Regions from separate parts of the Homo sapiens genome. Here all the other regions are linked to region 2. Evidence: promoter capture Hi-C in 16 types of primary human blood cells and fetal thymus (Javierre and others, 2016). All regions are on one chromosome and are shown on one strand. Each heading gives the region's core, a stretch centred on a gene start or on the middle of the fragment in contact. The rest is flanking DNA. Distances are from core to core; before and after follow the strand shown. Region 1 holds the start of CHUK (component of inhibitor of nuclear factor kappa B kinase complex). Region 2 holds the start of SLF2 (SMC5/6 complex localization factor 2). Region 3 holds the start of SCD (stearoyl-CoA desaturase). Region 4 overlaps CHUK (component of inhibitor of nuclear factor kappa B kinase complex). Region 5 overlaps ERLIN1 (ER lipid raft associated 1).

Region 1 (2,700 bases), core at 184-2,683, 680 kb before region 2:
TAATTATTATACTATACTTACTTTACAGGCAACAAAACAAAGCCTATATTACAGGAATTATTAGTCCAGGGTCTATTTACCTAAAATGTCCTTTAGGAAGGCACGAACCTCTCAAATGGCAATGCATGGTTGTGTGAATGTGCATCTGTGCATTTTTCTGGGGAAAGGGTTCACAGCTTTTATCGGTATATCAAAAAATACATGTCCCAGGCCTGGTGCCGTGGCTCACGCCTATAATCTCTGCACTTTGGGAGCCTGAGACAGGTGGATCGCCTGAGGTCAGGAGTTCGAGACCAGCCTGGCCAACATGGTGAAACCCCGTCTCTACTAAAAATACAAAAAAATTAGCCAGGCACGGTGGCGGGCGCCTGTAATCCCAGCTACTCAGGAGGCTGTGGCAGGAGAATCGCTTGAACTCGGGAGGAGGAGGCTGCAGTGAGCCGAGATCGCGCCCTGCATTCCAGCCTGGGCGACAGAGTGAGACTCCGTCTCAAAAACAAAAACAAACAAACAAGACCCAAATATGATTTTTTAACTGCTACTACAATGGTTAAACATTCTCTATTAAATCAAAGTAAAATTCTTGAGTCTGATGTTAACTGTCCTCCACCTACTAGAGCGCCCCCCATCTCCATCTACTAATATAGCCTTTCGTTTGAAGCCATGCTCTGCACCAACTCACCCTCATACTGTCCCGACCTGGAATACATCCCCAATTCCAAAGCCCATCCATGCTTCCAAAGGCTTAACTCTGGACCCATCATGAAGCCTTCCTTGTCTACTCCAGTCCCCACTGATATCATATGGCCTCCAAGCGCGCGCGCGCGCGCGCACACACACACACACACACACACACACACACACGGACGCACACATTCCCAAAGGCAGTCCCCTTCAGCCCTCTTCTCACACATTCGTGCTCCTACATACACACTGTGACGTGCATCTGCCTCACACACCCTGACACTCCACATTCACAGAGACACACACGCACTGTCACACTCACTAAACACCTGGTCACAGCCTGACAGTCATACCCAAGTTCCCCGCAACAGCTCTATCTATGCCCAGTACCTCAAATACAACTTTGGACACACAGGCATAGTATCTTTCTCTCTAATACACACACACAAGCCCACTGGCCCCCAAATACTGCCCAAGGTCCCACCAACCATCTATCCCACACTGTCAGCCCTGTGTTCCACAGACGCTCAAACCCACCGCCGCTCCAACCCACCGCCGCTCCCTCTCACGCCCCGCCTCACCCGATGCTGGTACAGACAGACGTTCCCGAAGCCGCCGGTGCCCAGCCGCTCCCGCATCTCCCAGGGCCCGCCCGCGCCCGGCCGCAGCCCCGGGGGCCGCTCCATGGGGCGGGAGGGCAAGCGGCCTCAGGTTCCACAGTTGTTCCAAGGCCGGTTCCGGGCCGCCGATGCTCGCGCGTCTTTGTTCTCGCGAGAATGAATGCGTCACTTCCGGTAACCGCTGCGAGAAGGCCCTTCCCTAAGTTCTCCCAGGGCGCTGCCAGAGCCCTGCCGGCTAAGGGATGGGGAAACAAACAGGTACTCGGTCCGCTCTTTAAGTCCCCTACGTATTTTCCGGGAGGGCTGAACGGAACCACAATGTTTTTCTAGTCTTGGAAAACATAAGATCTCTCCAAACCCCACATTCCCGTCAAATCCACTTTTCAAAGCAGCCCAGTCTCTCCTGTATTTTTTTCTTTTTAATTAAGATGGGGTCTCGCTCCGTTGCCCAGGCTGGAGTGCAATGGCACGATCACGGCTCACTGCAGCCTCGACCTCCCGGAATTAAGCGATCTTCTCACCTCCCGAGTAGCTGGGATTGCAGGCGCGCACCACCTCGCTTGGCTAATTTTTTATTTTTTGTAGAGACATGGTCTTGCTACGTTGCCCAGGCTGGTCCCGAACTCCTGGTCTCAAGTAGTCCTCCCACCTTGGCATCCCAGAGTGCTGGGATTATAGACATGAGCCACCGCGTCCAGCAATTAGTCTTTTCTAAACTTCATATTGTCTCTACTCCTATCTACACTTCACCTTTCTTCAGATCCCTGCCATCTATCCTCCAACTCCACCACCAGCTGATCCGGCACGCTAAAGACCACCAATGATTTAAAGGCTGCGAAATCGTTAAAATACTACGCTAGCAGGCCCACTAATGAATTAGCCTTCTTGTTCACTGACTTCCCAATACACCTGCTCCAGGATATCCCCTGTCATCCCAAATGACTCAAGAATGTGACGCTATTCCGGAGTGAAGAGTGTTTCTCGGGATTTCGCGAGCTTTTTTCCTAGATGCCTCACAGAGCTTGCTGTCCGGCAGTCCAGTTATGGGTTTGCCAGCACAGTAGTTCATTGTGAGAAGTGTTTCTAATGGGTGCTACAGGGCTGCAGAGGCAAGCTTTGGGAATGCTGTTGGTGCAGCAAGTGCTTCCGGGTGGCGGATTGCCATAGCATAGGGGAAACAACTCCTGGTCTTCCATTTAAGAGGGTCATACCTTCACTGTACCTGGGGGATCTCAATACTCCAAGTAAAGGAATCAGCATGGAATCAAATTATTGATAAATGTGATGCTGCAACCAGAATGTTGAGCACTGCATGATACAGACGAAGTCGATGTTGTAGGTCATTAGTAACATGTGGTATGGGAGGTTCTGGTTTCTGTAAGTGCATGGTTTCCAT
Region 2 (2,727 bases), core at 81-2,580:
TGAGACAGGGTCTTGCTATGTTGCCCAGGCTAGTCTCCAACTCCCGGGCTCAAGCTATCCACCTGCCTTGGCCTCCCAAACTGCTGGGATTATAGATGTGAGCAACTGTATCAGGCCAATAGTTCAATTTCTATACAATAAACTTGAAAGACCCGTCCAAATTATTTTATATCATTTAAGATTTTTTTCCATCCAACTGATTAAATAACTCTGTCAATTAAAGCTTGGACATCTTGAAATTGATATTTTGGTTGTTAACAGTTATTGCAACAGTATTTGACCTGTCTCTGGAAGATTTTGTAAAGAAGTAAAATTCGCTGTAGGAATCTATCTGGGGAAGAAAGGGAACTATAATTTGCTCTGTACCTGTTACATGAGAGAATCTGAACTGTGCAGTGTACACTGTTTTATCCTTTTATGGTTTACAATTACCCAGAAAAGTGAGTAAAATGCCCGTTTTACAGATGTGGAGGCTGAGGTTCAGAGATACTGACCAGTCTCTCGGTTTATAAGGAAAACCATGGCTAACAGCCTCCAGAGCACAAGCCCTTTACAAAGGAGGGTTGGAGATTGCAGGCAGCTTTTACTTATCTATGCTGCCCACGCTTAACATGGAAAACTGAAAGCTGACCTTGTGTTCCTTTAAAAAATCTCCAAGGAAGTCGGCTGCAGAGACTTCATGGTAACTCATGAGAAACAAAATGCTTTTGTGGATTAACAACTGTCTTTATTCCAATGGAGTTTTTTGGGGGTTTTTTCTTCTTCTTAAAGACAAAAAAATAATCTACCGCTGACACTCAACAAGAACCGTCGTAGAATGGACAAGTCTTCGGATCGCGCTGTGCAGATCCCTCAGCAAATTGTGACAGTATTATGGCACTTTGGCCTAAGCTGTTAAAGAGACGATGTAATGAACAGCTGCGGATTTCTGAGGCACAATTGTGTGACACAGGAAGCCCAAGTGTTGGCCATCCTCAACGAAGGCAGCTGCCGGGCTCCGGTTTGCTTCAGCAAACCCTCACCCCTCGCCTTCAACCAGGCGGGTGTCGTCAGCTGTCCGCCAGCTGCTGCCCGCGCCTTTCCGCCCCCGCGCGCCGGCCAAGGCCGAGGCGGCCGGGACCAGAGGCGCGCGCCCTCAGTGCATGTGACGGGGTGGGAGGGGGAGGTTTCTTCCTCCCCCGTCCCCAAGCCCCGCCTTCTCCAGAGAGGCTGCGGCTTCCTATTGCGCCACCACCGAAATGACCACCGTGCCAGCCAATCAAGACGTGATTCATGAAGTAAGACCCGCCCCTTACTGGTCCCCAGGTTCCTTCCCGCTCACGCCGGAGTCACTTCCGAAGAGAGAACCGCCATGAAGAGAGAAGGGGGTGCCGCCCACCTCTGCTCCGACAGCCTCCCGGAGTCCCAGCAGCAAGACGGCAACCACGCACCCAACTTCTCCAGCCACGGCTCATGCCGCCGTCGCCAGCGGCGCCGACATGACAAGGCGCTGCATGCCCGCTAGGCCAGGTTTCCCCTCATCCCCAGCCCCGGGGTCGTCGCCCCCGCGCTGCCATCTGAGACCCGGTAGTACCGCCCATGCTGCAGCGGGAAAGAGAACAGAGAGTCCTGGGGACAGGTACCGTGCAGAGGGCTTGAGAAGGGGCCGGGTCGCGGGGGCAAGGGTATGAGGGGAGGGCTGCAGACCGCCGCTCTTCCAGTTCCCGCCATCCTCCGCGAGCTCAGGCGTTGGCATTTCGGGGCCTGGCAAATCCCCGCCCCGCCTCCGCGCAGGGGCTACTGGGAGTTGGAGTTTGCTTCTCTGTAGTTGGGCAGCTGCTCTTGGTCTAGTGACCACCAGCCTGGACAGCTACGGAGAACCCGCCTTAGGTAGAAAGAAAGTGATTTTTTTCCTTTGCAAGAGTTTGACCCGGGACCCTAACTGCTTAATGCATATTTAGATCGTTTTCTGTACGTTGTCAGTTCTACTGATCCTAGTGGTTTAGTAATATAAACCTTTTCTATGTTGTGGGTGAAATTATGTAACCTGTGATGAGGGAATCCCTTCCACGAATTACTTTGTAGTCCAGCGTGCACGCTAGTTCATACTTAAAAGAACTTGCAGATTTGGAATGTGACGTGTTTTCTCTTTCAGTAACTTCACGCCTCTCCAAGAGGCTAATTTTTTTGTAAAGATTTTGTGGGAGCTATGTAATGAGATGGGGAGTTTCATCTAATGACATCCTCTGACAATAAAACATGTTTAAATTCCCTACGAACTTGGTACTGTCTTTTATTTTAAGTTAAATTGTATTAAGTTTTAACAATATTCATGTTACTAATACTGTGGTACAGGCCCACAATCCCTTATCTTAACTCTGAAAGCCAGAAAGCTATGAAAACCAAAACGTTTTCAGTAAGTTTGGCACCACATCTTACTGGGCAGCCAGATCTGACTAAAACTAATGTAAGGCTGTTTGTGGTCTTTATCCCATTAAGTGTGAATATTCATGTTTTGCTGGAGAAATGTCAGTGGATTTGATTACAGGTTGCAGCACCAGACCCCACTGGGGACTTTCCATAATACATCCAAGTTATCCCCTTCCTAAAATCTGATAAATTCAGAATTCTAAAACACATTTGGCCCCAGAAGGTTCAGATAAGGGTTTGTGAAACTGTTATAATTGTGTGTGTGTGTGTGTTTTTTTTTAAGCCAGTTGTTAAATAAGCAGTGGACATTTTGTGTGC
Region 3 (2,700 bases), core at 53-2,552, 570 kb before region 2:
GAAGGACACCGGGTGAATGCATAGCCTGCCTGGTTCTGAGCTCTCATGGTAAGGCTCCTACAGACACGGAAAAGATGGGGGCACAGGGACAGATCAGTAGGGTCAGAGCATCTCAGGGACCGAGGGCAATATGGTCCTGAGCAGGGATTAAGAGCTTGGGCTCTCATATGGTGTTTCTGGGCTCAACTGCCAGCTCCATCACTTACTGGTTGCTGTGACCATGGGCAAGTTATTCCATCTCTCCATATCTCTTTCCTCACTTTTAAAATGGAATAATGGGGTACCCACCTCCCAGGGTCACAGAGAGGCTTACAGAAAACGATTCTTGTGAATTGGCTTGCAGTAATAATTCAATACCTGCCAGCTATTCTTATTCCACATCCAAGCCCTTTCGCCTGCTGCTGGGTGAAAACACATGTCAGTGTTTCCTGACGGTTTCCACAAAGAAGATTCCAAAATTACAACCTGCCAGTCTGAAGAATCTCCAAAACATCCCGCACGCATCCTGGAGGCGCGGGCTTGGGGATGGGACTGCCCGCCCGGGTCCTGAACAGGATGCGTGCGCGCAGGCACACACACACCAGCCAGCCTGTGTGTGCGGCCGGAGTCCGGTGCGGTCCCGGGTGAGCAGCGCGTGGCTGGTGGGCGGGGCAGAGCCATTGTTCGCAGGCGTACCGAGTCCCCCGCGCTCGCCCGGGAGGGAGGCGGGGCTTCCCGCGTCCCCCAAGCTCCAGATCCTGGGGTGGCTGCCACGTCTCCCTGCCACGCGCCTGGGGGGACGGAAGACGGGACGGAGATGTTAGTGGTGGGCGCCCCCCGAGGGTTCACCACTGTTTCCTGAGAAACTTCCCCAGTGCCCACCCACCCGTTCTCCGTGTGCCCGAGGGCCGGTCCTGGGCTAGGCTCCGCGCCCCAGCCCCAAACCGGGTCCCCAGCCCCTTCCAGAGAGAAAGCTCCCGACGCGGGATGCCGGGCAGAGGCCCAGCGGCGGGTGGAAGAGAAGCTGAGAAGGAGAAACAGAGGGGAGGGGGAGCGAGGAGCTGGCGGCAGAGGGAACAGCAGATTGCGCCGAGCCAATGGCAACGGCAGGACGAGGTGGCACCAAATTCCCTTCGGCCAATGACGAGCCGGAGTTTACAGAAGCCTCATTAGCATTTCCCCAGAGGCAGGGGCAGGGGCAGAGGCCGGGTGGTGTGGTGTCGGTGTCGGCAGCATCCCCGGCGCCCTGCTGCGGTCGCCGCGAGCCTCGGCCTCTGTCTCCTCCCCCTCCCGCCCTTACCTCCACGCGGGACCGCCCGCGCCAGTCAACTCCTCGCACTTTGCCCCTGCTTGGCAGCGGATAAAAGGGGGCTGAGGAAATACCGGACACGGTCACCCGTTGCCAGCTCTAGCCTTTAAATTCCCGGCTCGGGGACCTCCACGCACCGCGGCTAGCGCCGACAACCAGCTAGCGTGCAAGGCGCCGCGGCTCAGCGCGTACCGGCGGGCTTCGAAACCGCAGTCCTCCGGCGACCCCGAACTCCGCTCCGGAGCCTCAGCCCCCTGGAAAGTGATCCCGGCATCCGAGAGCCAAGATGCCGGCCCACTTGCTGCAGGACGATGTGAGTTTCCCAGCCTGGCCCCGTACCGCCGGGTCGCAGGCGCGGGCTGGGCTTCCAGGGGACGGGTTGGTGGCAGAAGAGAGGGGAGAGCTCCGCGGAGGACTTGGTCATCTTTTTCGAGTTGTGCTGCCTTCCGTGAGTTGGGAATGTGGATTGTAATTTGGGGACTTGAGTCTCCAACTTTAGTTTCTTAAGCTTTAAAGAAAAATCCGGTCGTGCTGGTGCTTTTATGAATTATGCGGGTTTTCCTTTGTCTTCGTGGGGATGTGAGTGCTTTACTTCTCCTTCCTACTGCCGCCTCCCGATAGGTTTCGCGCCCCTCGTCCCCCTCGCCCTCCGCCCCTAATGTATCTGTACAGTTTCAGGGAACTTTTCTCCGTTGCGTCTCGGATACACCCTACCCTCAGTGAACTACGGCGCTGCGGAAGGGTCCGTACTGTCCACCCTTCCCCCAGCGTGATTAGAGAGCGGAGTGGCCCCAGCTGCCTCCACGTGTCTCTTCTCCTGACTCTCCTCTTCCTCCCCCTTCCAGATCTCTAGCTCCTATACCACCACCACCACCATTACAGCGCCTCCCTCCAGGGTCCTGCAGAATGGAGGAGATAAGTTGGAGACGATGCCCCTCTACTTGGAAGACGACATTCGCCCTGATATAAAAGATGATATATATGACCCCACCTACAAGGATAAGGAAGGCCCAAGCCCCAAGGTTGAATATGTCTGGAGAAACATCATCCTTATGTCTCTGCTACACTTGGGAGCCCTGTATGGGATCACTTTGATTCCTACCTGCAAGTTCTACACCTGGCTTTGGGGTAAGCAGCCTCCCTGTCCTCCTGACCTAGTCCTCCAGGTACTCACTGCTCTTTTAATAAGGTAGGATCTTACAGAGGACACCAGCCCCTCCCAGCCTCCCGGTTGGGGTTTTTCTCAGGCATTTCTCTTTGGTTGCTTCAGGCCTAGTGGGCTGGGAAGAACCTGGGGGTACTGAGATGCAGGACTGTCAATGCTGGGGGTTGAGAGCTTTGGAACCTTGTGCTTGTGGGCTTTGAAGTGTGCTGTGCTGGAGAGTCAGCTTTCCCTGAAAGAGCTTTTCTGT
Region 4 (2,700 bases), core at 138-2,637, 710 kb before region 2:
ATTTCAGCATGCAAAGACATAATCTGATCCTCCAGGTATCCAATGACACCAACCTAAAATATGATGAAAATACAAAGGAAATGAAAGGCTTACCACTACATCATAGGAAACAAAATTCAGATCTTAAGGATACAGAATGACTTGCTGCTTCATTAGAGAACTAAATAATATAATACGAAACACTGATTTTGTTAAAGCCTTTCTATTCTTCAGATTCTGACACTTAATCTTTCACATAAGAACATACTTAGTCTTAGTCTTCTCTCTTTTCTCTCCTGACAACAGTAAACTACTAGTATTTGCTTTTACCTCCGGAGAAGCAAAAAGCTACAACAGGTATCAACTAACAAGAAAGAAAAAGGACCACCAAAACCATTGGTATTACTTGTATCTTGGCTCTATGATTTTGACTGCCCCCTGGTCCCCACTACCTTGAATAGGGACACAAAAAGATAAAGAACTTGGATTTCCCACCCCAGGACACCATGGGTATCCCCACCCACATCCTCAGGGTAAGTACTGACATTAAGGAGTGTAATAACTTAGGACCGTGGACAAATGTACAGGATAAGGGGAAAAAATCTGCCACCTAGAGAATGAGCTATACCTAGGGACACCATATAATTTATTGTCCAAACCGGCATAATTTTGAGAGTGAAAGGGACTACTACTGATAATTATGGCAAGACATTAAGTATAAACTGGGACAGTCCCAGGTAAACCAGGATGTGCAGCCATCCTATCTAAACCAGTCACAAAAATAATAGTGACAACTACCATTACTGACTCCCATTTAATCTTCATAACCCTACTAGAAAAGAAATTGTCCCTATAATATGGAAACTAGCTGGATGTGGTGGCTCATGCCTATAATCCCAGCTCTATGGGAGGCTGAGGTGGGAGGATTGCTTAAGCCCAGGAGTTTGATACAAGCCTGGACAACATAGTGAGACCCCGTCTCTACAAAAAATGTAAAAGTTAGCCAGGCATGGTGGTGCACCTCTTGTCCCAGCTACACAGGAGGCTAAGATGGGAGGACTGCTTGAGCCTGGGAAGTCGAGGCTGCAGTGAGCTTTGATCATGCCACTACACTCCAACCTGGGCAACAGAGTGAGACCCTGTTTCAAAAAATAAATAAATAAAGGAAACTGAAGCTCAGTGAGGCACTAGGTAATTTTCCCAAAGCCCTTGTTTTTAATCACTATGATACATCCCTCTTTATATACAAAGCATCTACTAGAATTTTGTCTGAATTTCAGGAATGACATGAAAAATGCTCTTTATATATCAAAACCAAAGATAGTTTCTAATGGAGACATCAAGAATTAATAAGTATACAGAATGACGTCAATGATTTTACCTCAGCATAGTGGATGGCCTTTTCTTCCATTTCTTTCCATGCTTTTAGCATTTTTTCTGAAGCTAAAAGAAAAGTCTAAATTGGTTATCTCAGAAATAGCCATATCTTTAATTACTGGCTGCCTGCCTCCTTGCCATATCAACATCAAAGATGTGTTATGAGTTGAATTGTGGTCCCCCAAAAGATATGTGGAATTCCTAACCCCTAATACCTCAGAATGTGACCTATTTGGAAATAAGGTCATTACAGAAGTAATCAGATAAATTAATACTCATACTGGAATGGTCTGGGCCCTTAGTCCAGTACGACCAGTGTACTTAGAAGAGACACAGGATACAGATACACAGGGGAGAATGCTCTGTGACAATGGAGACAGATTGAGGTGCTGCAGCTGTAAGCCAAGGAATGCCAATGATGGCTAGCAGACCATAAGAAGCTAGAGAGAAACAAGGAAAGATTCTTCTCTACAGATTTCAGAGAAAACATGGCCCTGCCAACACCTCAATTTTGGACTTTTAGCCTCCAGGGCTGTGAGACAGTAAGTTTCCATTGCTTAAGCCACTCAGTTTATGGGATTTTGTTATGGAACCCTTAGGAAATGAATACAGATGACTTTTTTCTTAAAAATATATATATTTATACCAGTGTGCAGATGGGTGGATAAAGGAAAAAACAACAAAAAAAATTTTTTTTTGAGGTAGAGTCTCACTCTGTCACCCAGGCTGGAGTGCAGTGGCATGATCTCAGCTCACCGCAACCTCTATCTCCAGGGCTCAAGCGATCCTCCCACCTTAGCCTCCTGAATAGCTGAGGTGTGCACCACCATGCCCGGCTAATTTTTACATTTTTTGTAGAGATGGCGTTCTACCCCATGTTGCCCAGGTTAGTCTTGAATTCCTGAGCTCAAGGGATCCACCTGCTTTGGCCTCCCAAAGTGTTGGGATTACAGGCGTGAGTCACCACCTGGCCAGAAAAGAAATTTAATACTTGAATATGATTTTTAAAAATTAAATACTATAAAAGGATATAAACAGAAAAGACTCTCTCTTCTACCCCTCTACCATCCACCTCAAGGGACCTTACTATGATTATCTGTTACATAGACACATAGCCTGCTCCCTCACAAGTGAAAACATCTGTATACTCTTTATTTTTTCCCACAATTTAAAACTGTCAACTAAAGACTTAGGTGATCTTTTAATAAAAGCACATATAGATCTACCTCATTTTTCTTTAACAATTGTATAATAAGCCTTTGACAAGTCTAAGATATTTTAATGAAATAATTATAATGTTTTATCACTCACCAGAATGTCAATAATATACAAATAGAAATAAAA
Region 5 (2,700 bases), core at 72-2,571, 730 kb before region 2:
TCAACATTTTAGTTTAATACCTAGTGATCTCTCACATGTCCTATTCAGTTTCCTTTTTAATAGAAGTGCTACCACCAGTACTGCTTCCTCCTGGTGAACCAACAATCTGGTACTTAATTGCTTTGCCCTTGTCACACCTTTGTTCAGATCCAGAATGAATGACTTCCTGCTGTACTCTAAGGCCTCAAATAGGTCAGCACCTAATGAGTACATTCTAGACATACTGCATCTTATCAAGCACAAAGCAAAGGAAAAAGGAATCACAGTCCCTGTTTCCAAAGAGTTCACAATCCAGCACAGGAGACAAAATGTTACAATGCAATCAATCCATCAACAGGTACAAAACAAAACAAAACAAAACCAAAAACACAAATTATAAACTGAACTGTTAAGTGGTAAATTACAGAAAGTGAAAAAAATAGTAGTTTGAAAAGCTCTCTGAGGTGAAGGATTTATAAGCCAGGTCTAGAGTGGGAGAAATAAGAACAGATGAGGCAGAGGAACATCTTAAGCTCAATAAATATCCTACTGAAATACACACAGTTGAAGACAACATGTGTATAGGCGAACGAAAGTAGATAGGCTTGCCTGGAGCAGAAGGGACAATTTGGATGAAAGATGAAATTCTGACAAGAGACCATGGTAATACTAGACAGAGGGCCCTGAATGCTGGCTGGGGAGTTTGGGATCTCTCTAGTTCACCTTATATACAGTCACAAAACGAACCATTCAAAAATATGTTTACTTAATTCCTTTTCTCACATGTGATGTAGTTCTCATTCTCCATCTTATAGGGAGGTAAGAAAACCAGCTGGGAGGCTAAATAATTAATTTATTTAGATTAATTCAGTAAAGGCCATGAAAGCTGTCAATCCAGACATAATAGAGGAGGTATCTGATACTTGGTTGATATAAAATTCCAGGAGGGGAAAGAATAAAAAATAACTCTTAGGTTGAGACATTAGAATGACAGTAAACATTGGTGGCAGTTCTAGGTTAAGGGGATTGATGAAGAGACAAATTATATTTATTTCCTTTATAACATTAATTCAGTTTCCATATTCCACACCAACTTTAAATACACGTTCCTATTTAAACCAAAAGGATATTCTCTAGCCAATTTTCAAACTCAGAAGAACTAGGAAAGGGTTCAAATGTTAAATCTTCCATTTAACACCCTATCTTTATGTACTTTTATATTTCTTTTATGTCCTCTTAAAAATTACTTTCCCAGTATGACAGAAAATTTATTTAAAAAGTGAATCTATGGTTACTTTATGAAGGCTGAAGGTTTTCATATAATTTCTCCATTGCTTTTTCTTTTTACATCATATATGGAATTTCACATTTATATACATTCCTTTCAATTGCCAAGTTTGTTAAACCATTTGTTTATCTGGACTATGTCTTCTAATATGTTCCAAAAATTCCTAAAAATAAATTTATGTCTTACTCTCTTAAGAACACTCTTTTTTTTTTTTTTTTTTTGAGACGGAGTCTTCCTCTGTTGCCCAGGCTGGAGTGCAAGGGTACGATCTCGGCTCACTGCAACCTCGGTCTCCCAGGTTCAAGCGATTCTCCTGCCTCAGCCTCCCAAATAGCTGGGATTACAGGCACGCACAACCACGCCCAGCTAATTTTTGTATTTTTGTAGACACAGCGTTTGACCAGGTTGGCCAGGCTGGTCTTGAACTCCTGACCTCAAGTGATCTGCCTGCCTCGGCCTCCCAAAGTGCTGGGATTACAGGCGTGAGCCGCCACGCCCGGCCAAGAACACTTTTTAAATATGGTTTTATTAATATAATTATTTCCTAGAATGTTACCGTTTTACACATAAAGAACATTCCTATTTAGTCACACTGGCTGGCTCTAGCCCATGTAAAACTTTTTTGTAGATGCGAAGTATTTTAGTTTACACTGAAGTCTCTGTACTAATTTCATTTACATCTCTTATGATAGTTTATTATTAAATATATACACACACTATATTTGTTATATATATACACAATTAAACTCCAAAATCTGTTTACTATTATCTATATCTCCTTTATTTATATTTTTGCATCAGTATGACTTAACATACTAAGCATGAAGGCAGAGACAGATCTACCTGGTTTTGAACAAGATCTATTTGTTAGAGCCTTGATTTTTTTTTTTTTTTTTTTTTAAGAGACGGAGTTTCCCCATGTTGCCCAGGCTGGTCTCAAACTCCTAGGCTCAAGTGATCCACCTGCTTCAGCCTCCCAAAGTGCTCGGATTACAGGCATGAGCCACTGCGCCGGGCCTTAGAGTCTTGATTTTTAAGGGTCTAATGCTGCCATTGCTAACATTATTATAGATTGTTTCGGCTGTTGATGAGGTTATGTAATTAAAATTCCTCCTTTCACAGAAGACTAACTGAAGTCTATGACAGTTAAGCAATTTTTCCAAAGTCATGCCACCAACTGGCGGTAACGCTGGGTCCCCATGTTCATTACACCACATTGCTTCCTGAGAAATCAGCTCAATTTAACAACTTCCACCATAAATAGAAAGCCAGAAATATAAATGTGTTACAACTCCTGCCTTTAAGAAAACTGGAGCCTTTCTGGAAAGAAAACACATAAAAAAACTTAGCAAACAATGCAAGACAACAATATTAAAGAAAATAAGACAAAGGGCCAAAATTTACAATATAGACTTTAAGAGCTATAGATCAGA

The links. Contacts are between HindIII fragments. The CHiCAGO score rates a contact against its expected background, and 5 or more counts as called.
Region 1: a contact is called between the fragment with the promoter of CHUK here and the fragment with the promoter of SLF2 in region 2, in 6 of 17 cell types (M2 macrophages, M1 macrophages, M0 macrophages and 3 more). The highest score is 14.3, in M2 macrophages.
Region 3: a contact is called between the fragment with the promoter of SCD here and the fragment with the promoter of SLF2 in region 2, in 6 of 17 cell types (M2 macrophages, M1 macrophages, M0 macrophages and 3 more). The highest score is 7.9, in M2 macrophages.
Region 4: a contact is called between a fragment that was not itself captured here and the fragment with the promoter of SLF2 in region 2, in 1 of 17 cell types (M2 macrophages). The highest score is 8.5, in M2 macrophages.
Region 5: a contact is called between a fragment that was not itself captured here and the fragment with the promoter of SLF2 in region 2, in 1 of 17 cell types (M2 macrophages). The highest score is 5.1, in M2 macrophages.

What each region holds. Positions count from the first base shown.
Region 1 is chr10:100,228,163-100,230,862 of GRCh38, forward strand. CHUK (component of inhibitor of nuclear factor kappa B kinase complex) reads right to left here and starts at 1,434. Exons shown (of 21, transcript NM_001278.5): 1 at 1,266-1,434. The coding sequence starts at 1,370. It overlaps CHUK-DT (CHUK divergent transcript), which reads left to right and starts at 1,498. Exons shown (of 4, transcript NR_186419.1): 1 at 1,498-1,562. RefSeq lists silencers at 1,172-1,411, 2,481-2,700 and an enhancer at 1,522-1,571. The HindIII fragment of the contact is 6,397 bases long and covers 1-2,416 here.
Region 2 is chr10:100,911,633-100,914,359 of GRCh38, forward strand. It overlaps SLF2 (SMC5/6 complex localization factor 2), which reads left to right and starts at 1,331. Exons shown (of 20, transcript NM_018121.4): 1 at 1,331-1,618. The coding sequence starts at 1,479. RefSeq lists a silencer at 851-1,120 and enhancers at 1,341-1,410, 1,431-1,480. The HindIII fragment of the contact is 2,989 bases long and covers 222-2,727 here.
Region 3 is chr10:100,345,931-100,348,630 of GRCh38, forward strand. It overlaps SCD (stearoyl-CoA desaturase), which reads left to right and starts at 1,303. Exons shown (of 6, transcript NM_005063.5): 1 at 1,303-1,601; 2 at 2,134-2,416. The coding sequence starts at 1,575. RefSeq lists silencers at 568-947, 1,148-1,197 and enhancers at 738-1,329, 978-1,047, 1,428-1,667. The HindIII fragment of the contact is 6,474 bases long and covers 1-1,794 here.
Region 4 is chr10:100,200,728-100,203,427 of GRCh38, forward strand. CHUK (component of inhibitor of nuclear factor kappa B kinase complex) reads right to left here. Exons shown (of 21, transcript NM_001278.5): 14 at 1,361-1,422; 15 at 1-53. Among named protein-coding and RNA genes, the nearest start is that of ERLIN1, 16 kb to the left of the region's middle. The HindIII fragment of the contact is 3,181 bases long and covers 1-2,700 here.
Region 5 is chr10:100,180,045-100,182,744 of GRCh38, forward strand. All of the region lies in intron 2 of ERLIN1 (ER lipid raft associated 1), which reads right to left. Among named protein-coding and RNA genes, the nearest start is that of ERLIN1, 4.6 kb to the right of the region's middle. The HindIII fragment of the contact is 4,344 bases long and covers 1-2,700 here.